Regions from separate parts of the Homo sapiens genome. Here all the other regions are linked to region 1. Evidence: promoter capture Hi-C in 16 types of primary human blood cells and fetal thymus (Javierre and others, 2016). All regions are on one chromosome and are shown on one strand. The core of a region is centred on a gene start or on the middle of the fragment in contact, and the rest is flanking DNA. Distances in the headings are between cores, read along the strand shown. Region 1 holds the start of PARP12 (poly(ADP-ribose) polymerase family member 12). Region 2 overlaps HIPK2 (homeodomain interacting protein kinase 2). Region 3 holds the start of LOC105375530 (a long non-coding RNA gene). Region 4 overlaps HIPK2 (homeodomain interacting protein kinase 2). Region 5 overlaps HIPK2 (homeodomain interacting protein kinase 2). Region 6 overlaps HIPK2 (homeodomain interacting protein kinase 2). Region 7 holds the start of MKRN1 (makorin ring finger protein 1).

Evidence for each region. The method cuts DNA at HindIII sites, captures the fragments that hold promoters and counts their contacts. A CHiCAGO score of 5 or more calls a contact.
Region 2: a fragment that was not itself captured here is called in contact with the fragment with the promoter of PARP12 in region 1 in 1 of 17 cell types (M2 macrophages); the score reaches 6.4 in M2 macrophages.
Region 3: a fragment that was not itself captured here is called in contact with the fragment with the promoter of PARP12 in region 1 in 1 of 17 cell types (monocytes); the score reaches 5.2 in monocytes.
Region 4: a fragment that was not itself captured here is called in contact with the fragment with the promoter of PARP12 in region 1 in 5 of 17 cell types (monocytes, fetal thymus, naive CD8 T cells and 2 more); the score reaches 11.7 in monocytes.
Region 5: a fragment that was not itself captured here is called in contact with the fragment with the promoter of PARP12 in region 1 in 6 of 17 cell types (fetal thymus, activated CD4 T cells, naive CD4 T cells and 3 more); the score reaches 8.4 in fetal thymus.
Region 6: a contact is called between a fragment that was not itself captured here and the fragment with the promoter of PARP12 in region 1, in 8 of 17 cell types (fetal thymus, neutrophils, naive CD8 T cells and 5 more). The highest score is 9.2, in fetal thymus.
Region 7: a contact is called between a fragment that was not itself captured here and the fragment with the promoter of PARP12 in region 1, in 2 of 17 cell types (erythroblasts and non-activated CD4 T cells). The highest score is 5.7, in erythroblasts.

The regions. Positions count from the first base shown.
Region 1 is chr7:140,060,393-140,064,787 of GRCh38, reverse strand. It overlaps PARP12 (poly(ADP-ribose) polymerase family member 12), which reads left to right and starts at 1,837. Exons shown (of 12, transcript NM_022750.4): 1 at 1,837-2,266. The coding sequence starts at 1,941. RefSeq lists an enhancer at 1,690-1,899 and a silencer at 1,910-2,229. The HindIII fragment of the contact is 6,136 bases long and covers 1-3,863 here.
Region 2 is chr7:139,559,807-139,564,201 of GRCh38, reverse strand. It overlaps HIPK2 (homeodomain interacting protein kinase 2), which reads left to right. Exons shown (of 15, transcript NM_022740.5): 15 at 1-2,632. Among named protein-coding and RNA genes, the nearest start is that of CLEC2L, 38 kb to the right of the region's middle. The HindIII fragment of the contact is 2,074 bases long and covers 1,170-3,243 here.
Region 3 is chr7:139,583,004-139,587,398 of GRCh38, reverse strand. HIPK2 (homeodomain interacting protein kinase 2) reads left to right here. Exons shown (of 15, transcript NM_022740.5): 13 at 3,335-3,582. It overlaps LOC105375530 (a long non-coding RNA gene), which reads right to left and starts at 1,866. Exons shown (of 4, transcript XR_001745383.2): 1 at 1,781-1,866. The HindIII fragment of the contact is 1,480 bases long and covers 1,371-2,850 here.
Region 4 is chr7:139,600,533-139,604,927 of GRCh38, reverse strand. HIPK2 (homeodomain interacting protein kinase 2) reads left to right here. Exons shown (of 15, transcript NM_022740.5): 10 at 705-847; 11 at 4,332-4,395. The region is part of intron 2 of LOC105375530 (a long non-coding RNA gene); the gene reads right to left. Among named protein-coding and RNA genes, the nearest start is that of CLEC2L, 79 kb to the right of the region's middle. The HindIII fragment of the contact is 2,266 bases long and covers 974-3,239 here.
Region 5 is chr7:139,622,611-139,627,005 of GRCh38, reverse strand. It overlaps HIPK2 (homeodomain interacting protein kinase 2), which reads left to right. Exons shown (of 15, transcript NM_022740.5): 6 at 221-405. Among named protein-coding and RNA genes, the nearest start is that of CLEC2L, 100 kb to the right of the region's middle. RefSeq lists a silencer at 407-617. The HindIII fragment of the contact is 7,682 bases long and covers 1-4,395 here.
Region 6 is chr7:139,642,321-139,646,715 of GRCh38, reverse strand. The region is part of intron 2 of HIPK2 (homeodomain interacting protein kinase 2); the gene reads left to right. Among named protein-coding and RNA genes, the nearest start is that of CLEC2L, 120 kb to the right of the region's middle. The HindIII fragment of the contact is 6,710 bases long and covers 1-4,395 here.
Region 7 is chr7:140,475,529-140,479,923 of GRCh38, reverse strand. MKRN1 (makorin ring finger protein 1) reads left to right here and starts at 419. Exons shown (of 8, transcript NM_013446.4): 1 at 419-764. The coding sequence starts at 580. RefSeq lists silencers at 289-398, 689-828, 1,109-1,188 and an enhancer at 313-1,153. The HindIII fragment of the contact is 221 bases long and covers 1,718-1,938 here.

The DNA.
Region 1 (4,395 bases), core at 588-3,087:
TACTACAGCCTGGGTGACAGACCAAGACCTTGTCTCTAAAACAATAACAAAAACAAAATTAACATTTTATACAATGAAAACATTAAAATCACAATTAAAATCCAAGAGAAAACCCTTCATTCAATTTCCTAATTAAATAAATTCATTTTCATTTGTCCATGTTACTATCTAGTCTTTATCCATACACTTATTATTTACATTTTTGTAGTAATAGTACAGGTAATTTTTTTTTTTTTTTTAAAGATGGAGTCTCACTCTGTCGCCCAGGCTGGAGTGCAGTGTCATGATCTCCGCTCACTGCAATCTCTGCCTCCCGGATTCAAGCGATTCTCCTGCCTGTCTCCCGAGTAGCTGGGATTACTGGCGCCCGTTACCACGCCCGGCTAATTTTTACGTTTTTAGCAGAGACGGGGTTTCACCACGTTGGCCAGGCTGGTCTCAAACTACTGACCTCAAGTGATCCGCCCGCCTTGACCTCCCAAAGTGCTGGGATTACAGGCGTGAGCCACTGTGCCTGGCCTATAGTTAAGATTTTTATATTCATTTTTAGTGAATGTTATACCGTATACCGTAAGTACTCTCCCCCCACAATCCTTCTGCCTCTCATCTTCCCTTTTCCATTTTCCTAATACCTCCTACTGCCTCCTCTCAACTACCCTTGTGTGTTTCTTCATCTTTCTCCGTGCTTATTCAAAAATATCCTGCCACACACACACACACAGGCTTCTCTTTTTGTTATTCAGACATTTAAAAAAATTAATTCTTGATCATTCAACTTGATTATTTAGACATTTCTGTACAGCCATCTTTTCTCGTTTACCACCACATCATGGCTGTCTGCCCCTCTACATCCGCACACGGAGCTCTAACGCATGCTTGTTAAACAGCCTTCGTAATAGTCTTTAAAGATCAACCACACTGTTCCCACGTAACCCTACCTCCCAGGTAGGGTTCCCCCAGTAACACTTTCACACATAACTTATTTACTGTTCCTTTTACTTCTGGAAGATTCCGAGAGGAAAGATTGCTGGGTCAAAGGTCACACGCGTTTTCAATTTTAATAGCTATTCCTGGATTACCTCCTCAAAGGGCTCTAACAACTCGCATTGCTCTCAGCGTGTGAGAGGGTCCTTTGCTCTGAAGGGTCTTCTAAAATATTTGTTCAATCGTTACTTAGCAGGGGCTGGGAGTAACGGATTTTATTTTATTTTATTTTATTTTTTGAGACGGAGTCTCGCTCTGTCGCCCAGGCTGGAGTGCAGTCGCGCAATCTCGGCTCACGGATTTGCTCTTTTAAAGGACATACCCTTTTATGTTTAAATGAAGGAACTCATTGATGCACCGAGGCGAAAGGAACCTTTAATTAAGTGCGTCTTCTATGCGGAGTGATCGCTTTTGTCACTTGTTCGAGGGGTGAGAGCTCCCGTCAGTTGTCCCTGTTTCTGTGAGCCGTCTACGAAGCCCGGGCTTGGCCTGGGCGACGCTGAGCGGCTTTAACCGGCGGCGTCCAGCCGGCTCCGCCAGCGCTGCCGCCGCCCTCGAGGCTCCCTCTGACTGAAGGCGCGCTGAGCATCGCGGCATTAGGGGCTCCTGGTCCCTCAAACATCCAGGGAAGCCATTTTCAGGGACTAGGTACTGACCCCCGCGAGCCGCCACAGCCACAGCCCGCGCTCCGGGCCGAACGCCCGAGCTCAAGAGCTCCCGAGCTTCCGTCGGGCGGCGGCCTCACAGCTGGGGGCCCTGAGGCGGAAGGCGCAGCCGCTCAGCTGCGGACCGGGGGCGTGGCGAGGGCGCACAGGTTCTGTTTTTCGCCGGCCCGGGGCCGCTTTCGGTTTCGTTTCCCGCCGGCGTCTCCACCCTGCGAGAGCCGCCCGCCAGCCAGCGTCCGCCGCCGTCCGCGTCGCGCCACCCGCGGTCCGACGGGAGCAGGCCCAGCGGCCATGGCCCAGGCCGGCGTCGTCGGTGAGGTCACCCAGGTGCTGTGCGCGGCCGGGGGCGCCCTGGAGTTGCCCGAGCTGCGGCGCCGCTTGCGGATGGGCTTGAGCGCCGACGCGCTGGAGCGGCTGCTGCGGCAGCGTGGGCGCTTCGTGGTGGCGGTGCGGGCGGGCGGCGCAGCCGCGGCCCCGGAGCGCGTGGTGCTGGCCGCCTCGCCGCTGCGCCTGTGTCGCGCGCACCAGGGCTCCAAGCCGGGCTGCGTGGGGCTCTGCGCGCAGCTCCACCTCTGCAGGTTCATGGTCTACGGCGCCTGCAAGTTCCTGAGAGCCGGGTAAGGCGCCGCGCCGGGAGCGACGGCGGGCGGAGGTCCTGCGCGCCCTCACGCACTTCCAGCCCGCTTGGGGGTCCTACTTGAAGTTTGAGCAGACAATTCGGTGGCTCTGCCCTGACCTCGCACCGTCATTCACTAAAGCGAGCGTTTAATGAGCACCTGCGGAGTACCTGGCACAGTGCGAGGGACTCAGGGTCGAGTGGGGTCCTCTAGACGCCTGGGGGGAGAGAGTGATTTACATAGAGCATGGTAGTGCCGGGTGGAACACCCGGGTGTGGCCGTGTGGGGTGGGGAGGGAGGGAGGCGGCGGCTTAGGGGAACTCCACGACGCCGCGGGTCGCCCCTTGCCAGCTTTGAGGCCAGACAATGAAGGTTTTCTCTGCCCAGCAGCTGGTAGAGATCTTTAAACCCAGTTCAACCCTATTAATCTGCTTACAAACTGGAAAATGCAGACTCCCTGCCATCGCCCACAAGGTCCTGGGGCACTGGTCCCTGCCCACCCAGGACCCTTCTGTGACTGGAACACCCCCCCCCCCCCGGGCATTTCTGGGAGCCTGGGCATTTCTGGGAGTCTTTGCTCTGCCTGGAATGCCCTTCTTGCTCTTGGTTGGCCCTATTTGTTAATCCTTCAGGCCTCAACCTAAAGATCACATCCCATTTGAGGATTTTTCCTCCCCTTACTCTTGGTCACAGGGAACTGTTTATTTTCCTCATGGCACCCAGCTGCCAGTAGAATAGAAACTCCCTGAGGGCAGAGGCTCCAGCTGTCTCCCCAGCACTTAGCGTCCATGTTCTGTGCATAGCATGTGGCCAGTGGGATGTGTGGAAGGGATTGCTGAGGTTTATGCTAAAGAATTTGGGCCTCACCCTGGAGGTGATGGGGCGGGTAAAATGGCAGGAGAGAGCAACCATCAGGTTTGCGTTTTAGGAAGTCTAAGGTAGTGGTGTGGGTGCCAATTTAAGGGAGGATGTTGTGGGGGAACCACTGGGAAGCTAGTCATCAAGGAGAATTCCTTCCTCCCCTGCTCCCTCCTTTCTTGCTTGCTCCCTGTTTTGTGTGTGTGTGTGTATGTTTGTCTTAATAGAGTAGATATTTCTTGCTCATGTCAGGCCCAGTAGTGAGCATGGGGTGGGGGCCTTGATCCATACAGTCATTCAGGGATGCAGGCTGACTGACCTCCGCTCTGTGCCCCTCAGCACATGGCTCTTGAGGCCAGCCTAGGTTATCAAGTTCGAGGGGGCTGATCGAAAAGAGGGATGCATGGGAGGTTTTTGTGGGCCAGGTCTAGAAGTGGTGGATTTCCTTTCACCCACATCCCATTGACCAGAAGCTGTCTCGTGACCCTGTCTAGATGCAGGGTGACTGGGAAATGCCTCTAGGAAGCAGCTGTCTGGAAGTATCTAGATTAGAGCTTTCCAAGGGCTATGTGTGTGAGAAATTTGGGATAGCTGGTGACGGTGTGATGAGAGGATATGTGAGAGGTGACGACTCTTCAGTCTCTGTTCCTGCGGTGGCCTGGGTGTTGTTCACTGAGAGAGCAAGAGAGGGTTTTAGTTTGGAAGCATGCCCAGGAGGCAGCTGTTCAGGTCAGAAGCTTGGGAGGAAGGCCAGGGCCCCAATGCGCTGGGCTGGTTTGGGAGATATTGGGCGGTGTATGTTGTAGTTGCAGCCCCAGGAGTGGATCAGATCTGAGGTAGCGTCTGAGGCCTGAAAAGAGGCTGAGGGTGGAACTCTGGGGAAATCAGCCTTCAGGGATGAGGCAGTCCAGGGGAGAGCAGGGAACAACAGCCCACGAGGAGGAAGGCACACAGCAAATGGTGGCTGGATAGAGCCACTCATGGGGGTAACTGGTAGATCTGTTTCATGTTCATATTTGGTAAAATAAAGATGGCAGCCCTGTTCTTAAGCTAGTTCCCAAAATGTGGGGTCAGGTCTGACTTGTCTCGGAAATCTGTAGTGTGATATTTACTGGCTCAGATGACCTTGAGTTTTCTTCTTTCTTCAGTTTTCTCTTTTCCTTGTGGTTTACACAGGTGAGTTTCTTGAACCTTCCATTTCTGACTCACTTTAGGGAGAGTGGGTGTGGTTGGCTGCACTTTTCTGCTTCCCCTGTGACTCTGCTTGTCTT
Region 2 (4,395 bases), core at 957-3,456, 500 kb after region 1:
CCCTTAAAAGCAAAATCAATGTAAAAGGCTATGTTTACGTTTTACTCATTGTCCAGCTTAGACTCAAAGTCTAGTTCGGTGGGAGGGGGACCTTAGCATCCTCTCAGAGATGGTCAGGGCTGAGCAGGAGGAGGCAGAGACAGAGGGGCAGCTCAGCCTGGTCCATTGAGACCCACTCTAAACAGACATCATATTTGGAACAAGAAGATGCTTCGAGACAGGAATGGGCCCCACTGTCATGCAGAAACAGACTGGGGGAATGGCAGTTTCCCTGAGTCTTGGTTTCTTTTATGTTTTCTCTTGTGCCACCACCAAACTGCAGAGGACCTGCTGTGACCTAAAGGGCATTCCTTTAGCAGATAAGACCTTGAAAACTGCAAAACACCTGGGACCAGGGAGCTTTTAAAAAATACAAAAAAATACCACATTTGCTTTTTCCCTGTGAACTGTATTGACAGCGTGTTCTTAGGACAGTCTTTTGGTGGAAATGTTACTGTAAAATAGTTTTCATCTCACCCCTCCTAATCATACTCCCACTTTCCTGTTTGTGTGGTGGTGTTGCTGTTTTTTCCTTTACATGAATTAACCAAATGAATTTTGTGTCATTGTTTTTGGGGCTTATATTTTTAAAACATAGAAATTGCCTTTTGTTCATTTGAAAAGTAAGTATGTTGTATCTGAAAAAGGGCTCTGCCTCTGCTCTCCCTCGCTTCCTTGTAACCAATCTCCAAACGAATCTCTCCTGGCACCGCCCCCTTCCTTATATAGGGTCACTGTCCCCGGGGCCACCTCTGCCTCCACCCTGCTGTCACCACTGCCCTGGGCCAAGGCACCCAGGACTCCCAGAAAGCGCGAGAGCCAGCAAGAAGGCCCCACTCAGCCTTGAGACTGGTGGTCACACCTCCCTGTCAGAGTCGCCTGCTGGGCTGAAGGGGCAATGGATTGTCATTGTTGAAATTGTTTGGCTCAGGTTATAAGGAGGAACTTGGGAAGTAGAAAGTGACTTGACCATGTGCATCCTTGGTAGCTTCCTGTAACTAACAAATGGAACAGAGAGCACACCCCCGCCCCGCCCCACCCCAAGCAGATGTTCCCGTCAGCGCTGCCCTGAGTCAGTCGGTCCCCCGTTTCTGCTCTCCTCCCTTTTGTGTTCCTGCTCACTTCAAGCTTCTTCCATGGACTTTCCAGGGCACAGTCATCTCTAGCCCCCAAATCATCTCTTCATCCTCTGTGTGTGCATTTTTTTAACCAAATGAAATAGACAAGAAAGTCATACTTTGGGGCAGCAGAATTTCTAATTTAGTAGAATCACTGTATAGAGATAGATGTTGATATATATGTTTGTGTATATATATCAAACCAAATTGGATAGGAGAAGTATAGCTTTACAGATGAGGAGAAGGAGCTCTTTAGAGGTCGGAGTCAAGACTGGTGTCTTGGACGTGCATGGGCTGTGTCCCAGGCCACTCCGCACACATGGGGCTGAGGCGTGGCGCCGGGCCCTTGTCATCCACCTCACCACGGCAGAGCCAGCAGGCCCTGTAGGGTGCTGCTGCTGTCTCACTGGGTCCCAGCTTCAAGCGCATCAGTGGGTGACGGGGGCAACAAATCAGAGTGACTGGAAGTTTCCATCCCGTTTTGCTTTGACCACGTGTACTGAGCTGCAGCCTCTGATACTCTGTCACGTTTCCAAAAATGGTATCCATTAGGATAGAAAGAGAATGGATCTGCAGAAATGTTTACCTTTCAACTGCTCATGAATTCAGGACACTGGATAGAAAGACTCACTCCCCAAAATGAGAACAGGGAAGAGGAGACCCGGCGACACTAAGTCACCAGGTCCAAGGAACGTGGCTCCCTCCCCAGGGTCATCTCACCTAGATCTTTCTCTCCCAGGTCATCTCAGCTCAATCTCAATAACCCTATGAAAGCCCTGGTCTGTTGTGTTCCTTCACCGTACGGTTTCTGTAATAAAAAGTGTTAATCCATGTTAATCTGTGTGAAAATTATTGCGTGCAACAGTATTTTCTCGTGTACCTCTTTTTCCTATGTGAATTGTCCCTCTTTTTTATTTATAAATGTCTACTTTTGTTTTTTTAAAGACAAACCAATGTGTTGTAGACCTATATGTAACCTATTCCTTAGTCTCATATTATAGGTATGTTATAAGAATGGATATTTTACTTGGCTTTAGAATGTTTTACAAGAAAACTAATTCTTAACTGATCAAGTCCTTGCTACTAAAATGCTTGTGTTTTTCATCATGACGTCGTGTGCTTCTAAATTAATCATTTTCGTTGTAGAAAAATGGAGTGAATTTATATTAGTCTTGGAAACTAATAATAGCATTGTAAATTTATGAGATGATTTTAACAGAAAAAATATAGAAGAATATAGTTATTTTAATTGTAATATTACTAACTGTAGGGTGAGAAAAAGGGGGGGGGGTCCCATTGTGGTGAACTATGTTATAGCTTGTTACTCATAGTTTCTTTTTGATCATTTTTTCGGTCTCCGAGGTGAAATGACTTATTAATTAAAATTTGTAAACTCACATATGCATATTGTATATGTGTAGAAATGTAATCACACTTTGTCTTGGAATTACATTAAACTGTTTGAAATCACTGTACACCTGCCTGGCATGCTTATTTATCCTGGAACCAGACCTGTCATAAAAGCGAAGAGGTTATTGTTACAAGTAACATATTTGGGGTTTGTTTGTTTATTTAGATGGAGTTTTGCTCTTGTTGCCCAGGCTGGAGGGCAATGGCACGATCCTGGCTCACTGCAAACTCCGCCTCCCAGGTTCAAGTGATTCTCTTGCCTCAGCCTCCCGAGTAGCTGGGATTACAGGCATGCACCACCACGCCCGGCTAATTTTGTATTTTTAGTAGAGATGGGGTTTCTCCATTTTTTGGTCAGGCTGGTCTCGAACTCCTGACCTCAGATGATCCACCTGCCTCGGCCTCCCAAAGTGCTGGGATTACAGGCATGAGCCACTGCGCCGGGCCGAGATTATTTAATGGCTCTGGAAATGTGTAGAAGCCACCACTGCATTGAACATTTGCAGAGAGAGGTGGGGGGCCTTGAGATCACATTACTACCAATTCCCATGCAGTTGAGTGGGGCTAAGAGTCTCCCAGCTTCCTGCTGCCTCTTCCAAGCCATTTCAGCCCCATCTGCTCCCAATCTCTGTCCCTGACACCTAAGGTGTGGCTGTCACCTGCTGTCCTGGAAGCTTTCCAATATGCATCCCGGATCCTCCGCACCCAGGCCCTGCCGTCTCACCAGACACCATCAGCACCCGGAGCCTCGTGGCTTGCTGGCCCATTGCCAGGGCCCTTGCCACTGCGCACTTGAGCTACGTGCGCCACAGCCCCGTCCAGGCGCTGTGCCTGCAGCAGCTCCACCTCAGCAAGCCTAAGAAACGCCACATCCTGCTGGGACTGGGGTTTCCCAGCCTTCTGACACTCTTTTTGTCTTAAATTATGGTAAAATATACATAATATAAAATTACCATTTTAAGTGGACTACTAGCAACGTTAAATACGTTCACATTATTGTATAGGTGTCACCACCATTTCCAGAATTTTTTCATCATCCCAAACACAAGTTCTGTCCCCATTAACAACTCCCCATTTCTCCCTCCACCCGGTGCCTAGCAACCACCCTTCTACTCTGTCTCCATGAATCTGCCTATCCTAGATATTTCATGTAAGTAGAATCATATATTTGTCCTTTTGTGTCTGGTCTATCTCACTTAGCATAATGTCTTTAGGGTTCATTCATGTTATGGCATACATCAGAATTCCATTCCTTTTCATGGCTGAATAATATTCCATTGTATGGAGAGATCACATTTGGCTGATCCATTTATCTGTTGATGGACATTTGAGTTGCTTCCACCTTTTGGCTGTTGTGCAAATGCTGCTGTGAACATTGGTGTGCAAAAGATCTGTTCAAATCCCTGCTTTCAGTTCTTCCGGGAGTGTACCCACAAGGGAACTGCCGGATCCTACAGCAATTTTAAGATTAACCCTTTGGGGTCCCATCATTCTGTTCCCCACAGCAGCTGTACCGTTTCACATTCCCACCAGCAATGCACAAGGTGTCCTGTTTCTCCACCCAGCACTCATCCTGGCTTCCATTTCCAGGATTTTCAAGTCTGGGGAGCTCTGGGTTCCAAGCCCTCGGTCTTCTGTGCCTCTGGGTTGGCCAGACTAAACTCCACAGCCCTTCCCTCCACCCACCTTTTCCCCTACACCCTCAGCTCACAGCCTTTTGCCTCTGCCACACCCCCTCGCAATGGCTCAGTGATTCTGCTGTCCACCTCTGCTCCGAGGGCTGCTGGGGAAGACCACCAAGCCCTGAAAACGAATAACCTCCAGCTTC
Region 3 (4,395 bases), core at 861-3,360, 480 kb after region 1:
TACTGCCTCAGGCTCTGAGTAGCTGGGATTGCAGGCCCCACCACCACTCCCGGCTAATTTTTGGTATTTTTAGTAGAGACGGATTTTCACCATGTTGGTCAGGCTGATCTCAAACTTGTGACCTCAGGTGATCCACCCACCTCGGCCTCCCAAAGTGCTGGGATTACAGGTATGAGCCACCTCACCCAGCCTGGACTTTGTTTTTGATGGAGATAGAATTCATGTACTGTACTGTATAGTTCACCCGTTGAATGTGTACAATTCAGTGGTTTTAGTCTGTTAATTTTTAATTGTGGTAAAATATAAAATTTGCCATTTCAACCATTTTTAAGTGTAAATTCAGTGACATTAATTATATTCATAATGCTGTATAGCCATCACCGTTATCTATTTTCAGAACTTTTCCACTACCCCAACCAAAAACTATACCATTAATCAGTAACTTCCCACTCTCCTCTCCCCTAGCCCCCAACCTCTGGTAACCTCTAATGTATTTTCTGTCTGTATGAATTTGCCTGTTCTAGATATTTCATATATGTAGACTCAAACAAACTATTTGTCCTTTTGTGTCTGGTTTATTTCATTTAATATTTTCGAGGTTCATCCATATTGTAGCATGTATCAGAACTTTTTTTTTTTGGAGACAGGGTTTCACTCTGACACCCAGGCTGGAGTGCAGTGGTGTGATCATAGCTCACTGCAGCCTCAAACTCCTGGGCTCCCACCTCAGCCTCCCAAACAGCTGGGACTACAGGCATGCACCACCATACTTTGCTTATTTTTTTAATTGTTTGTAGAGATTGGCTCTTACTGTGTTGCCCAGGCTGGTCTTGAACCCCCAGCCTCAAGCAATCCTCCCACCTCAGCCTCCCAAAGCACCGAGATTACAGGCATGAGCCACCCCTCCCAGCATTCATTCATTTTCATGACTGAATAGTATTCCACTGTATGGATACACCATATTTTCTATTCATTCACCAGCTGATGGACACTCGGGTCGTTTCTACCTCTTGGTATTTTGAATAGTGCTGCAGTGAACATTGGCTTACATGTATCTGAGTACCTGTTTCCAATCCTTTGAGAATGTACTTAGGAATGGAATTGCTATAGGGTAACTCTGTGTTTAGCTTTTTGAGGAACAAGCATATGGACATTTCACATTTAAACTGTCATAACTGGGAGGTGTGGGTCTTTATTAATTAAAATTTATCTACTTTAAGTTAACATGAAGAGCCATAAATATATGCAACCAATTCATTCCTCACCTTCTTCTGAGTTCTTAACAATTATCATCTGTACGATTCATCTGACAGTTAATCACGGAGGCTTTGTGACATCCATTATTCTCTCTAACTGGTTATTTTAAAGCTTTTACTATTTAACTTGTCATGTTGTTATACAGTCCTCCACTGAGATTTTAATCTCCTCGAGGGCAGAGACACATATTTCTTTGTATAGGTATTCCCTGTAGTACCCCGCGTAGATCTCCGAGATATCATGAGTTTTAATTTTCTTTGATTTCAATCTTCTGGTTTATTCATAAACTAGAAAAAAGGAAACTTTTCCAGCAAGTCCTTACCCTGATAGAATTCTCTTTGCCTAAATAAGTTTTTTGCAAACCTGTTTTCACATGTTAACTAAGGTAACACAACTTGTAAGAAGAAGAAGAATAGCAGCTATTATGGAATACTTACCATGTGTTGTGTATCATTGAAAGCACTTGTATTTTCTCACTTAGTTCTCAAAACAAGCCTATGATATAGGTACAATTATTACCTACCTTTTACTGATGAGGCCACTGAATCACTGAGAGGTTAAATAGCTGCCCACCGCCCTGTCACCAGCACATGCCGAAGTTAGACAGCTGACTCCAAGGTTCGTGTTCTCACCCACGAACACGGTTAGGCACCCTGAACCAGAGAGGACAGTGTCCAGCCACTGGAAGAATTATCCAGCCTAGATGTCAGGAGCGCTGGGCGTTGGGGAGCAGGGCCAGCGCCTCCTGGGGACTGCACCCCCCAGATCCCCCAGCCTTCTGTAGCTCAGCAGACAGGCTCTGCTTCTGTCCCTCCTGCCTGGCTGCTGTGGGCTCTGGAATTTGCCCACTTCCCTGCTGCCTCTAGGGTGGTGGAGATCCATCATGGGAAGAGCCTGGCCTGGCTGTGTGGCCTCAAACAAGATACCCGGGAGGTGGCTGTGACTCTATGAGGCTCCGTAAATACCAGCTGCTTCTCTCATCCAATTAGCTGGAAACTGACCAGTTGCCTAGGCAATTTTTATTTCTTAAAAATAAATGATCAATATATAAAAATAGATGCACATTCATTTTAAAGTCTTAAATAAGCACACAATAAACAATAAATTTCACATCCATCATGCCAGCAGCCTCTCACTGAGTTTGAAGACAAACAGAAGTAGTTCCCAAAGTAACCACACTAACTTAAATATCTCTGAACAAACATGCCGGCCAAGAGCTATCCAAAGCCAGTGCCTCCCTATTGTATGAAGTTCCACATATAAGATGAAGGCCAGGGCTTCAGAGTGGCTTTCACACAGCATCAACCTGGCAGGGGCCTTCCCACCAGGCCCCGGTGCAATACCATCTCCCCCGATCCCTTGGCCCAGGCAGTGGAAAAGCTGCAGGTGAGCCTGGCTCCTGAAAAGGGGACTGCAGAGGTCGTAGTGGCCTGCACACAGCCCACAGAGCACACTCAAAGTAAGGAGAGGCAGAGGGTGTCAACTCTAGCTCTGCGTTCTCTGCAGCATGTCTGCACTGTGCTGTGTGCATGCAGCCCCCTCAGAGCCTCACGCTGCATCCCATTGGACATTCTGCTCCCTCCTGCATAAGCTTTGCCAGGCCGCAGGCACCAAACCTAAGCTTATGACATTCTTCTCCCAGCGAGGTTTACTCCTAACCCAGGTCCCCAGGTTGCTGGGTTCTTGCTGGTTCTCTCCTTGCTCAGATGTCCCATTCTGGCAGGCCCACGGGGGTTGTACCCAGCTCTGGGCTGCAGGTGCCTCCCCTGCAGCTCTGCTGAGCTCTGCTGCACAGGAAGAGCCCAGGCCAGCCCGGAAGCATCTCACTCCCTAGTTTCCAGAAGCCCCTGTGGGTCCAGCACCAGCCCCTTCTCCATGTCTTCACATGTCCCCCTGCTGCCGGCTACACAGGGGACTTTTGCATGCCCAGTCTCCCTATGGGGGTTAGGGAGGGCAAAAGCCCTGTTCCTGCCCTCTCCCCTCTGCCTCCCTCCCCTGCCCCAGGGCATGAAGTGCTAGTTGGGTGTCTCACCTCACGGCCTTCTCCCACCTCTGACTTCTCCCTTTGCATTTTCAGCACTGTCTCCAAGCAAAGAAAAAACGTCATCAGCTGTGTCACAGTCCACGACTCCCCCTACTCCGACTCCTCCAGCAACACCAGCCCCTACTCCGTGCAGCAGCGTGCTGGGCACAACAATGCCAATGCCTTTGACACCAAGGGGAGCCTGGAGAATCACTGCACGGGGAACCCCCGAACCATCATCGTGCCACCCCTGAAAACCCAGGCCAGCGAAGTATTGGTGGAGTGTGATAGCCTGGTGCCAGGTAATTTGGGGCCAGGACAGGGCAGGAACCTCTCCCTGGAGAGTGGTTTTCCTGCTTTTCTGCTGCTAGAAATGTTGCTGTATGGGAGCTAGTACAATAGAAAGTGCCCAGTGACTGCAGGCGACCCTTACCGAGGATTTTATTCAAGTATCCAGGGGAGGCTTCTGCTGAACAGCACATTGTATAAGCAGCGTTTTCCTTCTTTAATCCTGTAATCAATACCTCTCTGCCTTTACAATGGCTCTGCTTCCAACTAGGTTGATTAATAGAAAATAAAAGCCTCCTGGTTCTTTATGCCTGAGCCTGGAAGAATACCTGGTCTGGGGAGTTCCTGGCTGACATCTAGCACCACTCTCTGCCAGGAAGCCCTGGTGGTCAGATGGGCTTCTTGTGTAGGAAGAACCTCCTCCGAGTCTTGCTAGGGAAGGGTGAAATTGGCCCCTCTCAGCCCCTCCTCGGAATCAGCTGCTGGGCGGCGAGACCAAGCCATGTGTGTTTCTCTGCTCATGCACTGCTATCTTCAGAGGACTCCTCCTGTCCCGCGAAGGCTTGTCTTGAAAATTGGGCCCTGGAATAAAGGCTGAGAACGTAACCTTCTGAATAAACTCAGTGGCTCACTGTAGATTTTGTAGCATCTATTTAGCGTTTCCCTTGCTCATGCTCACAGTGGAAGAATGTGGGGACTAAACCAGAAGAAGTCTGCGCGTCCCGCTATTCCGCCACAAACCACACCCAAGCCAGCCTGCACCTGCGTGGCGGCATAACTGAAAAGGGAAGGAAAGGGAACGCCAGGAAGCTTTTGTCTAGATGTGA
Region 4 (4,395 bases), core at 857-3,356, 460 kb after region 1:
TGAGGGCCAGCGGTCACCCTCATCTAGCTCAACTCAACTACCCTAATCCCCTGTACATAGTTGTGGGACAGAACAAGTAAATAAATAAACTTTCAGAAACTTCAAGCATTGCTCATTAGAGCAAATTTATAAAGAAATCATTCTTCAACATGAATGAATCCCTTCCATACAGCTGTGTCCCTGTACTTAATTATCTTCTACTTAGTTCATATATGTTCTTTTTTTTTTTTTTTTTTTTTTTTTTGAGACGGAGTCTCGCTCTGTCGCCCAGGCTGGAGTGCAGTGGCGCCATCTCGGCTCACTTCTTCAAGCTCCACCTCCCAGGTTCATGCCATTCTCCTGCCTTAGCCTCCCAAGTAGCTGGGACTACAGGTGCCCGCTACCACGCCCAGCTAATTTTTTGTATTTTTAGTAGAGATGGGGTTTCACTGTGTTAGCCAGGATGGTCTGGATCTCCTGACCTCGTGATCCGCTCTCCTCAGCCTCCCAAAGTGCTAGGATTACAGGCGTGAGCCACTGCACCCGGCCTGTATGTTCATTGTTTATCTCCCCTTACTTTAGTTTTTGAGGCCAGAGACCAGGCCCTCACTCTCACACCCATGAGAATGTCTAGCACAACCCCAGGCACAGAATAAGTGTGGGTTCATGCAAATCAATTATGTGATTAGCAAACATGGTCATTGCACATGTCCTGTGTTCTACAGCAGGCTTGGCCAAGTGGGACCCAGCAGATCCTGCTTCCCCCAGCATGGCAGCAACTGACTGGAGTGGCCACCCACACATCAGTGCAGCATGCCACCGTGATTCCCGAGACCATGGCAGGCACCCAGCAGCTGGCGGACTGGAGGTAAGCAGGAAACCCCTCTAGGGTGAGTGGGTGTGTCTGGGATGGGAGGCACGTCCACTGCCAACACAGGGCTGCCAGGCTGGCCTGTACTTCAATTCCCCGGTTTGTAGAGAGCTTTTTAAAGCTTCTAAAAATATTGTGTGGACTATGAGTGCAGGGTAACAAGAAGCAATTTTTAAATAATATACCAGGATACAAGAAAATCAGTTTCATTAATTTATGCTTGGTTGTCATTTCCACCCAGAATTCAGTTATGTCATTTACTCATCAGTGTAATTCACCAGACTTGGTTCTGGATGATGTTTGGTAGTTTCTCAGAATTAAATTCTACGTTCAGAAAACAAAGGTCTGTCACCAGTGAAAGAATGCAGAAGAGGGTCCCCAAAGCCCTAAGCAATTCTAGAAAGTGTTCTGAAGATGTTTGAGACGGGGGTACTCTGGAGTCTATCTGACCTCCCACGGGATGGCTTGACAGAATGGGGTTTATTTGGAAGGGTAAATGCTGGCATGTTTGCTGAGTGTGCCTCTTCAGTTAATAGTCATATCTTACAGATCAGAGTCTACTTCCCACACACCCCAGAGGCGTCCACCTGACTGCCTGCCAGCACAGCATACCCCCTGCATCTGTTTCCAGAACTCTACCCTGCCCAACTCATGATTTCCTCACAGATGCGCTCCTCTGTTATTTTTATGGCTAGATACCCTTGTACCTTCCCCCGAACACCACCACAATGGCCCCTTCACCAGTGCAGAGCCAGATGGCAACCCTCCAAGTTGTCCCCAACTCCTCATGGCCCTATTGGGCTATCTCTCATTCTGCACGAATATCAGGACAGGTCACTCCCCTCAACCCCCTGACAGCCTCCATATCACACAGGGAACCTCCCACAGTTCTTATTCTGACCTACAAGGCTATTGTGAATTAAGATCTCTCCGAGAAAAGAAGAAAGGTGGTGATATAAGCCCCCAGTCAGACCCCTACTGCAGCTTCCTCCATTCCTCCAGTTCATTTTCTGCCCAGTACAGAGTACCTGGGCCCTTCCCCACAGTCCCACTCACTTCCCTTCTGGCAACGCCCTCATGCCACCACTCCAGCCTGGGCAACAGAGTGAGACTCCATCTCAAACCATGTAGAGCTGAGTTCAATCCTGGCTCTGCATGACCTGGGGCAAGTTAACCTTTATGCACCTCAGTTTCTTCTTCAATAAAGTGGGGATAGTAATGCCTGCTTCACAGGATTGTTGGGAGGTTTAAAGTAAGATAAAATACAAAGCACTTGGCCTATATTTAACATGCACCATCGCAGTGCCCGGTACATGACAGGCATTAAATAAACCTGTCATCTTCCCTCCCCACTATCACATCGGCCCATGCTCAGCAAGATTGCCTTTCCTCCTCCAGCTCCTTAGGAGCAGCCGAGTGGAAAGCTGTCTGACCAACTGGGTTTTTTTTTTTCCCTCGCCCCTTTTTCTCCTAAAAGACCACACACATGACATATTCCTTTTTTTCCCTTTTGTCTTTCAGCATTTATAGCTCATCTAATTTCAGAAATACACATACACTTACTAATTCCTACATATTTTCTTATTCCTCCTCCCTCCTTCCTTTCGTTTTGACATCTCTTACCTAGTGACCACAGGAGACATCTAAAGCCAGCATACTCTCTTCCTGGTCTCTCTCCATTTCATGTGTGAGCCAAAGAACATCTATTATTGTGGCTAACAAACAGAAGTACCAGTGCTAGGCCTGACTCAAAAGAGAAAGAGTGCCACCTGTCTACAGGAGAAAGAGCTACAACAAAATAAAGAAGCCATAATATCAGTTTCTTGGTCGGATGCAGTGGCTCACGTCTGTAATCCCAGCACTTTGGGAAGCCAAGGCAGGCAGATCACCTGAGGTCAGGAGTTTGAGACCAGCCTGGTCAGCATGGCGAAACCCCGCCTCTACTAAAAATACAAAAATTAGCTGGGCGTGGCAGTGCACGCCTGTAATCCCAGCTACTCGGGAGGCTGAGGCAGGAGAATCGCTTGAACCCAGGAGGCAGAGGTTGCAGTGAGCCGAGATCGCACCACTGCACTCCAGCCTGGGCAACAGACTGAGACTCCATCTCAAAAAAAAAAAAAAAAAAAAAGAAGCCATAATATGAGTTTCTAAAGTCCATGTAAATGCCCAAAAGGCGCTATCAAAATCCCTACAAAAGTGTTCATCTACTTCTTTTTTCCTGTTCATCCTTTTCCCCATGTTGCAACAATAGGTTCTTATAATTTTCTAAAATTCAAATGAATTATCCTTTAGCTTTGAATTTTATTATGTGTTAAATGAGCTCTTATGGGCCAATCTCTGAGTCAGTCACCACCTTTAACATTTCTGTGGGAAAACAAGGCTTTAAGCTTCATACAACCCAAATTATAAGAATTGTGAAACATAACCCGTTTTTAGGATGAGGGCTGCCAGTATTTCTATCATGACTGTTATTAATTTTGATTTAATACCAACTTTATACTTGTCTAGTCAACCTTCAGTTAATCTAATTATTCATTCAGCAAGCGTGTAATTAATTGATCAGCTGCTATATGCCTGAGCATTGTTCCAGCCACTGAGGGAATTCAAAAGAACATTAACACTTCCTAACACCAGAAGCATATGGCTCCCAGGCTTCAAAGTTTGTTTTTCACGTAAAGTATAATTTCTTCTTTAATAAAATGGTATTGCTAAGATATCCTGCCTACGTCACAGAGTGGAATAAAATAACCCATTGAAGACACTGTGTAAATTCCGCTTTTTCTTCATTTAAAAATTTTTTTTATAAAATTAAGGTGAAACTTTTTTTTTTTTTTTGAGACAGTGTCTCGCTCTGTCACCCAGGCTGGAGTGCAGTGGCACAATCTCGGCTCATGCAACCTCTGCCTCCCAGGCTTAAGTGATCCTGCCACCTCAGCCTCCCGAGTAGCTGGGCCCATAGGTGCACCCCACCATGCCCAGCTAATTTTTTGTATTTCTGGTAGAAAGGGGGTTTTGCCATGTTGCCCAGGCTGGTCTCAAACTCTTGAGCTCAAGCCGTCTGCCCTCCTCGGTCTCCCAGAGTGCTGGGATTACAGGTGTGAGCCACCATACCTGGCCTGTAAATTCTAAAATAGAATATTGTTCAGGATAAACACCTAGGTGCTCAGGGACTTTAAAAGTTGGAGGGAATATTTATCTCCAGTCCCTAGAACTTAAAAACTTGGAGCCGGTGTACTTGGCATTCTTCCCACTTGAAAGTCCTCTTTCTCACTCACAGCCAGTTATGTTTCACCTACTCCTTATGAGTAGAAGAAACCCACCCGTTGAGCACACATGGCCAGGCTCATCCCTTCAGCAGCTGCACAGCTAGTGAGATAACCAACTGCAGTCAGCGTTTAATTGGGGAGGAAGCTTGATCTTATAGAGGAGCTCTACTTTTAGAACACCTCTAAGGCACCTTGTTGTCCCGGTTGCCTTTCAGAAATACGCATGCTCACGGAAGCCATTATAATCCCATCATGCAGCAGCCTGCACTATTGACCGGT
Region 5 (4,395 bases), core at 652-3,151, 440 kb after region 1:
GGGGCACAGCCCCTCTCTGCCTTTCCTGCAGAGAGAAAAGCCACATCCTGTGGGCAATGACAACATGTGGGTGGTGCCTCCCATAGGGGCAGAGTTCCTGGGAACTGAGAAAGGGGGCTTGAGAGATCAGGAGGAAGTTACAGGGCAAAAAATAAGGGGAGCCAGGAGAGGGGAGGCACGCTGGGGTCTTCCTTGGTAACCTGTCCTTACTTGCGTCCAGGTGAACATGACGACAGATTTGGAAGGGAGCGACATGTTGGTAGAAAAGGCTGACCGGCGGGAGTTCATTGACCTGTTGAAGAAGATGCTGACCATTGATGCTGACAAGAGAATCACTCCAATCGAAACCCTGAACCATCCCTTTGTCACCATGACACACTTACTCGATTTTCCCCACAGCACACAGTAGGTGTCCTGCCTGATGCTTCGTACCAGGGATCGGCAAACTTTAAAGGCCCAGACACTAAATATTTTAGGTTTTGCGGCCATAAGGTCTTGGTAACAACTACTCAGCTGTCACTGTAGCTGAAAGCAGCCACAGATGCAATACATAAACAGATGAGTGAGGCTGCATTCTAATGAAACATTTATGAAAGTGGGCAGGGCTGGGCGTGGTGTCTCATGCCTGTAATCCTAGCACTTTGGGAGGCCCAGGCAGGTGGATCACCTGAGGTCAGGAGTTCGAGACCAGCCTGGCCAATATGGTGAAACCCTGTCTCTACTAAAAATACAAAAATCAGCTGGGTGTGGTGGGGCGCACCTGTAATCCCAGCTATTTGGGAGGCTGAAGCAGGAGAATTGCTTGAACCTGGGAAGCAGAGGTTGCAGTGAGCCGAGATCGCGCCATTGCACTCCAGCCTGGGCGACAGAGCGAGACTCCATCTCAAAAAAAAAAAAAGGAAAGAAAAAAAGAAAGAAAGTGGGCAGTGGCTGGACTGGGTCCCTGGCCTGCAGTTGGCTTCACACTGAAAAGGAGGGAAGAGGAGAGCACAGAGCTGGATGAACCTGACTCTGGGTATCTGTGCAGGAAGAGAGGTGCCCGAAACGGTAGTCTCTGTAGCGCAAAACTAGTCTCAGGGCCAAAGATTGCTCCCAGAACCTTCCCAGAGTGGACCCAGTCTAGTTTGGGTTTGGATTTGTTCATTCATTTCTTCAGCGTGCTGTGTGCCGGGGTACAGTGGTGAGCAGAGCAGACGGCCCTGCCCACTGGAGCTTGCAGTCCGTAAGAGAGAGAATGGTATAAAACAAGTGATGCCCAAATCACCAGGCTGCTATGAGGACAAGTATCAGGTGTGATGAGAGCATACCCACAGGGGAGCCTCATTTTGGGGCAAACCAGGAAGACTCCCAGGAAGTGGCCTGTGAAGGATGAGGAAGAGGATGGGCATGAGCAGGCAGGGCATTGCCTGTATGGACAGGACACTCCCCCATGGGCAGGACCATGCACCCATCCCAGAAGGCAGTAGGTGAGACAGTGAGGCATCCAGTCAGCCAGGGCAGGCCGTACATGTTAAGGTTTTTAATCTTGATCCAAAAAGCAATGGGAACTCATTAAATGATTCTTCAGCAAGGGAATAGCTGGTTAGATCTGTGTTGAGCAAAGATCTGTCTGCTGCCACACAAGTCAAATGAGTCTGGAAAAAAATGTCCATTCGGTTTAACAACTCACAAGTTGTCAGTAACGCAGTGGCAGCCATTCAGTGGAGTGGTAAAAGCAGAAACCAGTTTACCAGGTTGAAAGACCAAGTGAGAGGTGAAGAAATAGCAACCTTTCATGAAGTGAGGCTATGCAAGAGAAGAAATAGAGGGGTGACTGGGGAGGGGTCAAGGGGATTGTTTTTAAGACAGGGTTCAGAGCACAGGGATGGGCCAGTGTCATTGGAAGGATAGATGGACGAGGGGCATGTGGATGTCAGCGTATGTGCTGGTCTCATGGAGAAAAGTTGAGGGAGTCCTGTCAGACAGCTTCTGCTTCTCAGAAGTAGGCAATGAGGTTATCTGTTGAGAACGAGGTGGAGGGTGGTTTAAGAAGGGTAGAAAGTTTAGGTAGCTGGAGCAGAAGGTGGCAGAGCAAACTGACCAGAGAAATACGGTGGAATTGTTGAGCCCTGAGGTTCGACATGAATCGTTTATAGTGTAACTCATCTCCCCAGGTGAAGGCATAGAGAAGACAGATGAGTCTTCTGATCTAGGTTTGTCCAGGTGGAATTTTTGCCAGGCTGGTAAGAGAAGAAGACAGATTGACAAGGAAGCTGATGAGGCTAGCCAGAGAGTAACTGTAATCCAGAATGATGTCTATTGGAGACTTTGCCCAAAGGGAAAGGAAGTGAAGATGGGAGGGGATCCAAGTAAACGTGGTGTTCTGGTCAATGCAGAGAAGGGTTATCATAGTCATAGTGGAATGAGCCAGATGGAGGAAGAATGTGGCTGGGAAAACAGGATGCTTAAACTTGTAGTTTCTGGAGGTGGAGCAATTTCAGGTTTGACGGTCCAGGGAATGAGTGGCTGTACTGGGTTGAGAACAAGAGTCACTGGACATGAGAAGTAAGCGGGAAGCCAGGGTATTTAAAAAGGGACCTGTGACTTCTGAAGCCTTCCTAGCGAGGCAGGGAATGGCTTGGAGAGGAAGGTCCAGCCAGTGGCAAAGGCCTCAGTGAACGAAGGGGAGAGGAAACGAAGTCATGGCCGGTTGCAGTGGCTCACACCTGTAATCCCAGCACTTTGGGAAGCCAAGGAGGGCGGATCAGCTGAGGTCAGGAGCTCAGACCAGCCTGGCCAGCATGGTAAAACCCCATCTCTACTAAAAATACAAAAATTAGCCAAGCGTGGTGGCCGCACTTCTGTAATCCCAGCTACTTGGGAGGCTGAAGCACAAGAATCGCTTGAACCCAGGAGGCGGAGGTTGCAGTGAGCTGAGATAGTGCCACTGCACTCCAGCCTGGGCGACAGAGCGAGACTCCGTCAAAAAAAAAAAAAAATAGGAAGCCGTTGGTGGATGGGAAGGTAATGGAGGGTCTCACTTCAGCCTCTCAACCCTGAGGTACTTGGGATGTAAAAGAATAAATAATCACATCCTACGTCTGCAGGGAAAAGGGGTGTGCTCAAGAGAGCAGCAGATTCTATAAGGATCAGGAGGGGAAGGGAATCCTGTGAGAAGAGCCTGGAGATGTGAGAATTGTGCGTATCATGGCGGGCCCTGCTGTCTCCAGAGTCAGAGGGGGCTGGGTCTCAAGGCTGGACCCGCCCCTTTCTGGCCTACAGGAAGTGAGTGGGTGGCACCACCATGGATAGTGGGGCCTCCATTTCATTTCTGTGCCTTACTATCAGTGAAGCAAGTCAAATGGCATTGCAACAAACAGATAGTGCCTCTTTAATGTAAAACCATGCTTGAAACAACTGAACTCCGGTACAAAGGAATCTGGACCCATCCCTCCCCTACTCTTGTTATGGGATTTGTCCTTTTTTTCTTTTTTTTTTTTTTTTTTTTTGAAGTAGAGTCTCACTCTGTTGCACAGGTTGGAGTGCAGCAGTACGATCTTTGCTCACTGCGTCACTGCAGCTTCCACCTCCCAGGTTCAAGCGATTCTCCTGCCTCAGCCTCCCGAGTAGCTGGAACTGCAGGCACACGCACCACACCCGACTAATTTTTGTATTTTTAATAGAGACAGGGTTTCCCCATGTTGGCCAGGCTGGTCTCGAGCTCCTGACCTCAGGTGATCTGCCCGCCTCGGCCTCCCAAAGTGCTGGGATTACAGGCGTGAGCCACCGTGCCTGGCCTGGATTTGTCCTGTTTCTGAGTGCCATAGGGGTCAGCCACAGAGCTGTCCATCTGTACCACAAGAAGAAGAAAAGCAGACTTGGCAATTTACTGGATAGGGCTCCCATGATTTCAGTCTTTTGATATCACGGGTAAAATGGGATGACTGAGAAACAGCTACGGATAGGAGACTGAGGATAGGGGTGCCCTCTACAGAGGTCCTCTTAGCCGTCTGCACCAAAACAGTCAGATAGTCACCCCCATAAAGCCTGGGGCTTTAATGACCTCAGAGTCCTTCCACCTCTGGGTTCTGTAAGGAAGAATCAGTAGAGTGTTTCACGGCTTGGTCACATGGAGACCGTGAGCATCAGCAACCAATTCAGAACTTCATCTGGGACCCAAGAGGGGCACTGACAAGTCAGAACTCAGAAATTAGCCTAAGAAGGAAAGGTGGGTCTCTGAACACACCTAGGCTTGCCTGAAAGTAGGCCTGATCCCTAAAGTTCTCTAGAACTTGCTGGGAAAACCTTGAAGAACTCCAGGGCAAGGATAAATCTCCAGGCCCATGCAGCTGTAGCGCCCCTGCCCTGGGAGCTGAGCCACAGCTACTGGATTACTAGGTGAAACAGACCCCACTC
Region 6 (4,395 bases), core at 1,833-4,332, 420 kb after region 1:
AGTAGTGTTTGGGGCTCACGAGAACAAAATGAGCATTCTCATCTCTTTTGCTGAATGTTGCTCCGTTCCAAAGGCACTGTAGGAGAGTCCCTGTTCTTGGACTACAAAGAGGCCCCATTGTTAGGATAAGAAAACTGGTTAATGAGAAGATGGAGCAGTGGTATCCTCATCTGAAAACTTTCTTTTCTTTCTTTCCTTTTTTTTTTTTTTTTTTTTAAGACAAGGTCTTACTCTGTCACCCAGGCTGGAGTGCAGTGGCGTGATCACAGCTCACTGCAGCCTCGACTTCCCAGGCTTATGCCATCCTCTTACCTCAGCCTCCTGAGTAGCTGGGACTACAGGTGTGTACAACCACTCCTGGCTAATTTTTTAAAAAATTTTTTGTAGGGACGGAGTCTTACTATGTTGCCCAGGCTACTCTTGAACTCCTGGCCTCAAGTGATCCTCCCGCCTTGGCTTCCCAAAGTGCTGGCAGTGCATGGGTGAGCCACCGCACCAGCCTTAAGGGAACCGTTTGTTCCCTTACCCAGTGGGTCGCGTCCCTCTGTCTCCATGGAAGTTGAAGGTTCAGGTGGCTTTCCGAGCCTGTGTCTGTTGCACTTCAGCGCCCCCTAGTGGGAGGTGTAAAGAGCCAGCTTAGTATTTCCTCTGTGACCCAAACACAAGAAGGCAAACTTTGGTTTGGTTTGGTTTGGTTTGTTCTTTTTCAGCTCCTTTAAGAAAAGTTGAGTGTTGGAAGGTTTCCCCTGAGTAAGCTGCCCTTGGCTGGAGACCTGGAGTTTATGCCCATTTTGTTTGGCAAGATCTTCTTGTTCCTAACTCCTGCTGGAATAACCAACCAGTCACCGTGAGAGCTCGCTCTTGTCCGGACCACAGCAGGTCCTAACCAGGAGTGCTGTGAGCAGACGGGCCATGGCCACATTTACTCTGTGGATGCTCCCTGCTCTAAAATTGGGTAAAAAACATACCCTCAGTGAGTCCTGTTTTGCTGGTTTGATGGCGTGCACGTCTCCAGAGAGCAAGGCCAGCCTCATCCACCTGGCTCCCCTCACCGCACTCACACCTGCCTGCTTAGAGTCAGGCCGCATCCTGTACTTACAGGATCAGAGCCTACTCCATCGGCCAGGAGTAGTGGCTTTATTTGGAAAGTTGCTTAGGTAGGGTATTAGTGGGTTTCGGCCCTGCTTTCTCAGTAGTTTTCCACCTAACACACAGTGCAGTGGGGGAGACCTCCTCAGACGATACCTGTTTTATTGGAATATCCCTTAGGCTGCAATGGAAATTCACTCTCTAACTTGTGTTTGACATTTTTACTGAGTGGGTTCCTTTTCATAGCTCAAGTTTCTGGCTTCTGTTCTCTTAATTGGTATGTCTCCGGCTGGTGACACTGAATGTATCTCCCTTTCAAAGAAGGAGCAAGTTTCTGTCTTTTATCCCAGACTGTCAGCCATAAAGACTGACTGTGACTTAGCTCCACAAGCCACATGATCAGATGGTGCTGTAAGGAAAGAAAATACCCCAAAGATGAGCCTTGTCTATGGCACAGTCACTCATCTGAGAGTTGGGGATTCGGGGCTTCTCCAGTGGAGGCACTGGGAACCTTGGAAAGGAAAGCATCGTGTTTCTTCTGCCTGTTGTTGGTTCATTCATTCATCCAGCAAACACTTATTGAGGCCTCACCATGAACCAGTCGAAGCTAAATGTTGAAGCAATGAGAAGTTTTGCATTTAAATCAGTAAAGTTGCACATAAGTGATGTTACTTTCTTAGTATGCATCCATCTAGAGTAGAGGGTGAACCTTGAATTAATGTGTTAGTGTGGAAGAGACCAGCCTTTTCCCCAGCCTCACATCTCATGATCACTATAAGTGGGTAACATCACCAGGCTGAATAAAGTGAAGACGCCACATCTGCAGTTGATCCACAGGAATTGAAATTCCAAATCCCTTGCCAGTGCAGAGAAAAGAAGAGTGGTCCCAGAAAGCTGAAAAGTGACAGCAGGTGACAGTGGGACTTGGGTTAGGCCTTCCCAGAATCAGCAGGCTTCCCAACACAGCTCTAAATGCCCAGTTTCAACCCTCGGCTTCAGTCAACAGACTAACAATGAATCGGAAGAAAAACAGTCAACAAAAGGATCCATGATGAGGACCATCATAAAAGAATGGCTGAGGCCTGGCTCCTTTCTCAGCCACTGTGTTGGGATTCCCAGCCTCTGGCCTTTGCGCTCACCTGGGCAGGAGCCTCATCTGAGCACAGTGGCAGAGCACAGCGAGGCATGGGGGCTGCCACACCGATGTGCACCCATACCCAGGCTTGAGTGTGCAGGCTGCATGTCACCTCCCACACATGGTGACTTCAGAGCCCCTTTGAGGAGGAGGGACAGCGGATGGGAGGAAATACCACAGGGCTTTTGTGATGTTGACAGTGCTCTGTTTCTTCACCTGGCTGGTAGTGACACTGGTCTTTGTTTTCCAATAAGTTGTTAAGGTATACGTTTTTGTTGTATACTTCTTTGTATATATATTCTCTTTCATAATTAAAAAAAAAGATAAAAACATTTAAAAAGAGCCTGGAGCAGTATACATATGAAAAGATTACATAGATAGGCACCTGCAGAGACACATGGTTCCATTTCTCTGGCTGATAGGTGCTTCTGCAAACATTTGTTGAGCACATTCTTTGACAAAAGTCACCAAGCATAAAGCGTGGCCTGGTGACACTGTAGTCTGGTAGAGTGCTGGGAGGTCAGAACAGGCTTTCTCCAGCAACGCAGAGCTTCATGGTATAGCACCAGAGACCAGATTGGGGGATATTGGGCCACCCAGGCCAGGGATGGGTAAAGCAGGCACAGCACGTGTCAGGAGTATAAGGATCTCAGGAATTACAGGGCAGCGTGAGTATCTTTGAAATACTTATCATGGAGTCCAAACTGGTTCTTCTAGGAACCTTCCTCATTGACATTACAATTCATAGTTTTCTTTTTTTCTTCTTTCCTTCCCTTCTTGCTTTTCTTATTTCACCAAGTCAAGTCAATATCGTTTAGGTGGATCCATGTCCCTGGCTGTACTTTCTTCACTTTATTCTACATGCACAAGCACATAACCACAAATTTAGAGGCCAGTATGCTCTGGACATCTGAGAACTGGTTTCCAGTTTGCACCAACATCACCAGAAGCCTTTGGAGATTATATTCATTTCAGTTGCAGATGCAACCTTCTCCTCTGGCATGTAAACAAGTGAGTTAGATTTTGGTGCTACGCTTAGCAGAGTTGGAGCAGGACTAAGAACGAAGGATCAGTGTGAAAATGTGTGTGTGTGTGTGTGTGTGTGTGTGTATTTAGTACATATTCAGAGCCAAGATGTTCACTGCCAATATGAATAGAAAAAACCGCCAATCTGATTCTAACATTATACAGGGAATGGCCAGTTGAATCAAGGAAGCCTGCATCCTTTAAGAGACTGTCCAAGTGTGCCATGAGAATGATGTCAACATCTAGACCCAACTGCAATTATATCAACCTCCATATGGATATGATGGTTCATTCTGAAGTCTTCAGCACTTGTATTGGTGATAGCTGAAGATACTCAGTTATGACAGAATCATCAGTGAGGGTCTGAAATGATCCTCCTTAGCACACAGTTTTATGGACATCAGTAGCGGCCCCTTAGGTAGAAAATCTCTGCAACAGTGGTTCTACGTGTATTACATCAAGCTGCAACCACCCAGAAGTTTGGGTGTCGTGTCTGTCCCCCCAGCTCTCCTTTTGGAGTTGGAACCCTGTTCCCTTGCAGCAGCTCTCCACCTTAATTTCTTCAGCTTATAACCAGGCAAAAGTACCCTGCTGCAGAGTGCACAGAGATCTTGGGGTCCACGGTGTTTGGCTTGGCCATTCCAAGGATGGCTCCGTGGAAGCCAGCGCAATGGGTGGGCCCCTTGTCAACCTCCCCCATGTTTTGCTCCTAGAGCTTCATCTCTGGGTCCCTTTTTCCTTTTGCTTGTCTGCCTATCACCCTAATCAAAGACAAAACTATTTCTCTTTGATCTCCTGTTTGCCTAGGAAGCTGTGTGTCTTTTTAAGAATCCAATCACAGGTTGACCTGGGATTAGCTCACCTCAATGGCCATCTACATCTCCACTTGGACCTTCTGGATCCCCCTAGGCATGGTGTGGATTCATCCTGTGGGGAGGCTGCCCCTGTTTTCCCAGCAGGCTTGCCTGTGGTCACAGGGCGTGTTGTCTCTCCATGCAGCTGCCCCGAGGTGCTTTCCAGCCCTTGCCTTTCTGGCTGTCTTCTGTGCAGCTCTCTCTTACCTCTGGCTCCAATTCCTCTGAAATAGCCTCCTCCTCCTCCCTGCTCTTCAGATTTCTGCCACTGTTTCTTGGGTCCTGTGCTGC
Region 7 (4,395 bases), core at 579-3,078, 420 kb before region 1:
TTAAGTGTTTACCATGTACCAGGCACTAAGCTCAGTGATTTCTAAGGACATCATATAATCCTCACAGCAACCATATGTGGGTCTGCTGTCATCCTTATTCGAGAGAGGCTGAAACGGAGGCTCAGATAGAACAAGTACCTAGCTCAAATATTACTAGAGAAATGGGAAAGTGCAGATTCAAACCCAGGTCTTCCGACTGCAAGTCCCTAGTCCCCAGCCCCAGCTCCACTATATCAGCCTCTGCTAGGAAGAAAGCCGCTAACTATGGACTTTCGTCGCCGGGGTTTCGAGCCTAGGACACACCTGTACAGACCCCCGTTTGCCCCGCCCCTTTCCGGAGGAGACGTCCCCTCCACCAATGAGCGGCGCCGTGGGCGGGCCGCGGGCGCGCATGCTCTGGGCCCGCAGTTGAAGTGGCGAGAGCGCTCAGATACGCGACGCGTAGCAGGCGGGGACCGAACGGGTGCCTCAGTGTCCTTCCCCTCCCCTCGCCTGGCCTCGCCGTCCTCTCCCCGCAGCCGGACCGGAACTATGTGATCCCGGAAGTTCCGGGGCCTTTGCTGTGTGGGATAAACAGTAATGGCGGAGGCTGCAACTCCCGGAACAACAGCCACAACATCAGGAGCAGGAGCGGCAGCGGCGACGGCGGCAGCAGCCTCCCCCACCCCGATCCCCACAGTCACCGCCCCGTCCCTGGGGGCGGGCGGAGGGGGCGGCGGCAGCGACGGCAGCGGCGGCGGCTGGACTAAACAGGTCACCTGCAGGTAGGACGTTGCGCGGCGGAGCGCCGGGCGCGGGGAGGGGGCCGCGGGCCAAGCCTGCGGCGCGGGAGGGAGGAGGGCGGCCGGCCTGCGGCTAGAGGCGCGGGAGGGCGGGGACCGGCGTTGTCTCGATCTCTGCAGCCCTCGCGGCCCCCGCTGCCGCCGCGTTCCCCCAGTCACTGCGTCAACCCCCGCTGGGCCGCGGAGCCCTCAGCGCTGTCCGCGGAGGCCTGGCGGTGCGCGATTACTGCGGAGCCGCGGGGCTGCACCGCCGCTTACACTTCCCTGAGCGCTGCCTGAGCTGGCTGCGAGCGCATCGGGGAGAGGTGGGCTGGCTCCTCCCCTGCCGCTGGAAGGATGCCCCCGCCGCTGCCTCCGGCTCCCGGGGCTCGGGAGGTGGTCACTTGAGGCCGGTCTCCCAGCGATCCTCTCCGGGCCTAGACACCCCGCCGAGGGCCCCAGCGAGCTTGCCTGGCTCCCGGCCCTCTCCTCTCTCCGTGCCATCCGTTTGTAACGTCTTTTCACGTCCCTCCGTCCCTCCGCCCCCCATCCTCCGCCCAACTGTGAGAAGAAGCTTTTGTATTTCTTCTTTGTATGTTTGTCGAGGTTGGCGGTGCTGAGCTTTGTCTTAGAAGCAGGCGTTCGGGGGCCGGGGTCGTCTTCTCCACCCGCGGTTTTTTTGAGCTGCAGATTATTACCCTCCCCCAGCGCTATGTTCCTCTTTTGAAATTTACGCATCTTCCGAAGGGAGTGAAAGGGCTCTTCGCTCCCGGAAGAGAGAGAGGTTTGGTTTTGGTTTGATATGCGAGACGAAAATATTAGAAAAATTAAGGGATGGCGGTTGTATGGATGTGTATGGTTGTAAAAAACTACCTAGCTCTACGCAGAAGAGGGCATTTAATTGTACGTTTTTTATTTTCCGGTTTTTAAATAGTGATCAGTAGCGACTGTAAGCTTTTCTTTTTCTATCAGTTGAATAAATCAACTGAAATGCCGGTTTTCACCTGGGTGGTATAATTTATATGCAAGTATGTAAAAATGATTCCTAATTAGAACTTGTAGTATTAAGGGTGAAATTTGAAACCTTCCCAGTCTTTGATGTGATACATTTATCCTGGCGACCTTCGAAGGTCTCTCAGCCTTTGATATGATACATTTAAGGTGTGAAGGATAAGCTTAATTATTTTACATAATGGGATGTAGAAAGCATAAACGCAATTTCAGGTCACTTGTCTTATTCATCGGTGGATTGTAAAAGTGGAATATTGCCAGGAATGATGATTTTAAAGTTTCTACTCATGGAGCAAATTATTTGAATATCTGTTTCCCTTTTACAATGCTACAGTTGATCTATATGTGCTAGTTACATCTTTTAAAAGATTGAAACCGGCCTGTCGGGGTGGCTAGGTCGGCGTGGTGGCTCACGCCTGTAATCCCAGCATTTTGGGAGGCTGAGGCGGGCGGATCGCCTGAGGTAAGGAGTTCGAGACCAGCCTGGCCAACATGGTGAAACCCTGTCTCTACTAAGAATACAAAAATTAGGCCGGGCACAGTGGCTCACACCTGTAATCCCAGCACTTTGGGAGGCCAAGGCAGGTGGATCACGAGGTCAGGAGCTCAAGACCAGCCTGGCCAAGATGGTGAAACCCCGTCTCTACTGAAAATACAAAAAACATTAGCCGGGCGTGGTGACAGGCGCTTGTAATCTCAGCTACTCCGGAGGCTGAGGCAGGGAGTTGCTTGAACCCAGGAGGCAGAGGTTGCGGTGAGCCAATATCACACCACTTCACTCCAGCCTGGGCGAAAGTGAAACTCTGTCAGAAGAAAAACAAAAAAGAAAAAGAAAGAAAAGAAAGAGCTTAGATTTACTAGTTTTTGGGGGTTTTTTGTATAGCTTTTGCTTGAGACAGTTTTTTATTGTTGTGCAGATTCCTTGATAGGTCTGGGGTTTTAGTGTTTGACATTGTTTTCGGTTGTTCTAGGTACCAACATGATCTCTTACTTAAAACTATTTTCTCCTTTAGATAGAGGAATGTCAACTATCATTTTTTTTTTTTTTTTTTTGAGACAGAGTTTCCCTCTTGTTTCCCAGGTTGGAGTGCAATGGTGTGATCTCTACTTACCACAACCCCCGCCTCCCAGGTTTAATTGATTCTCCTGCCTCAGTCTCTGGCATTACAGATGCCTTAGTAGCTGGGATTACAGGCGTGCACCACCATGCCCACCTGACTAATTTTGTATTTTTAGTAGAGACGGGCTTTCTCCGTGTTGGTCAGGCTGGTCTTGAACTCCCGACCTCAGGTGATCTGCCGGCCTCAGCCTCCCAAAGTGCTGGGATTAGAGGCGTGAGCCACCGCACCCGGTCTATGATCCTTATCGTTCACTTTGAGCTCTCTGAGAAGAGTAGGGCCCTATTTTATCTGCAGGGCTTTCTTTCCTCAGTTCCTCAGTTTCTTTCCTCAGTTCCAGTATCATGAACAGGATACTCAGTTACTGAGTATCCTGAGCAGATACTGAGTAAATGCTTGAGTGATGTTGATAAAGTCATATACCTAGAATTACCCACTTTAACAGGAACTTTGTAAGATTCCTCTGCTTTCATTAAAAAAAAAAAAAACAAAACTTGTAAATTACCAAAGACAAAGTACTTAACAGAACACATGTGTATCTTCCTTTTTTTTTTTTTTTTTTGAGATGGAGTGTCGCTCTGTCGCCCAGGCTGGAGTGCAGTGGCGAGATCTCAGCTCACTGCAACCTCTGCCTCCTGGGTTCAAGCGATTCTCCTGCCTCAGCCTCCTGAGTAGGTGGGATTACGCCCGGCCACATGTATATTTTTTCTGGAACTACCTTATTCAATCATTCAGTAAGTAAACATTGCACGCCAGCAATGGGAGACACAATATTAGGTGTTCAAGAGAGTGCAGATGTATGTACTGTATTATAAATAAACATTTTCAATATGTTTGCTAGGTAAACATCACCTAAAGAATCAGGTAGAGGTGTGTTTTAGTGTTTGTGCTCATTTCTCCCTATAGCACATCACTCCTGTATCTAGGAATTTGACTAAAGCTATTTTCTTCACTTAGAAGTTTTGATTAGAATGTTTTTAATTGCTCGGAATCACCTGTATTTTCCTACTGGTTACATTTTTTCTAATGTTTCTCCTGGGGTTTTCATTGTGTTTTATACCTTTCCTCAGAAACTGTGTTATGCTGCCACCACCAGGCTGTTTTTCATATCTTTTATTAGAGCAATACTAAGAAACAGAAATGCTCATTGCATCTGCTACCTTGAGTTACCTTGAGTGTGTGAGGTTAGAACAGTTAATACTTAAAGAGAAGTTGTAATTTGAATTTAGACCCCTCTTTATTAGAGTGCTTCTATAATGGCAGATAAGTGTTCTGGTAGTTGAAATAATACACAAAAAAACAAGTGTTTAATTTTTAATTTTTCAAAAAACTCTTTTCTTGATTTTTATTTGTATTTATTTGTATTTTTTGAGATAGGGTCTCGCTCTGTCCCCTAGGCTGGAATGCAGTGGCAGTGTCTTGGCTCATTGCAGCCTCCACCTCCCAGGCTCAAGCAATCCTCCTGCTTGAACCTCCCCAGTAGCTGGAATTACAGGCACGTGCCA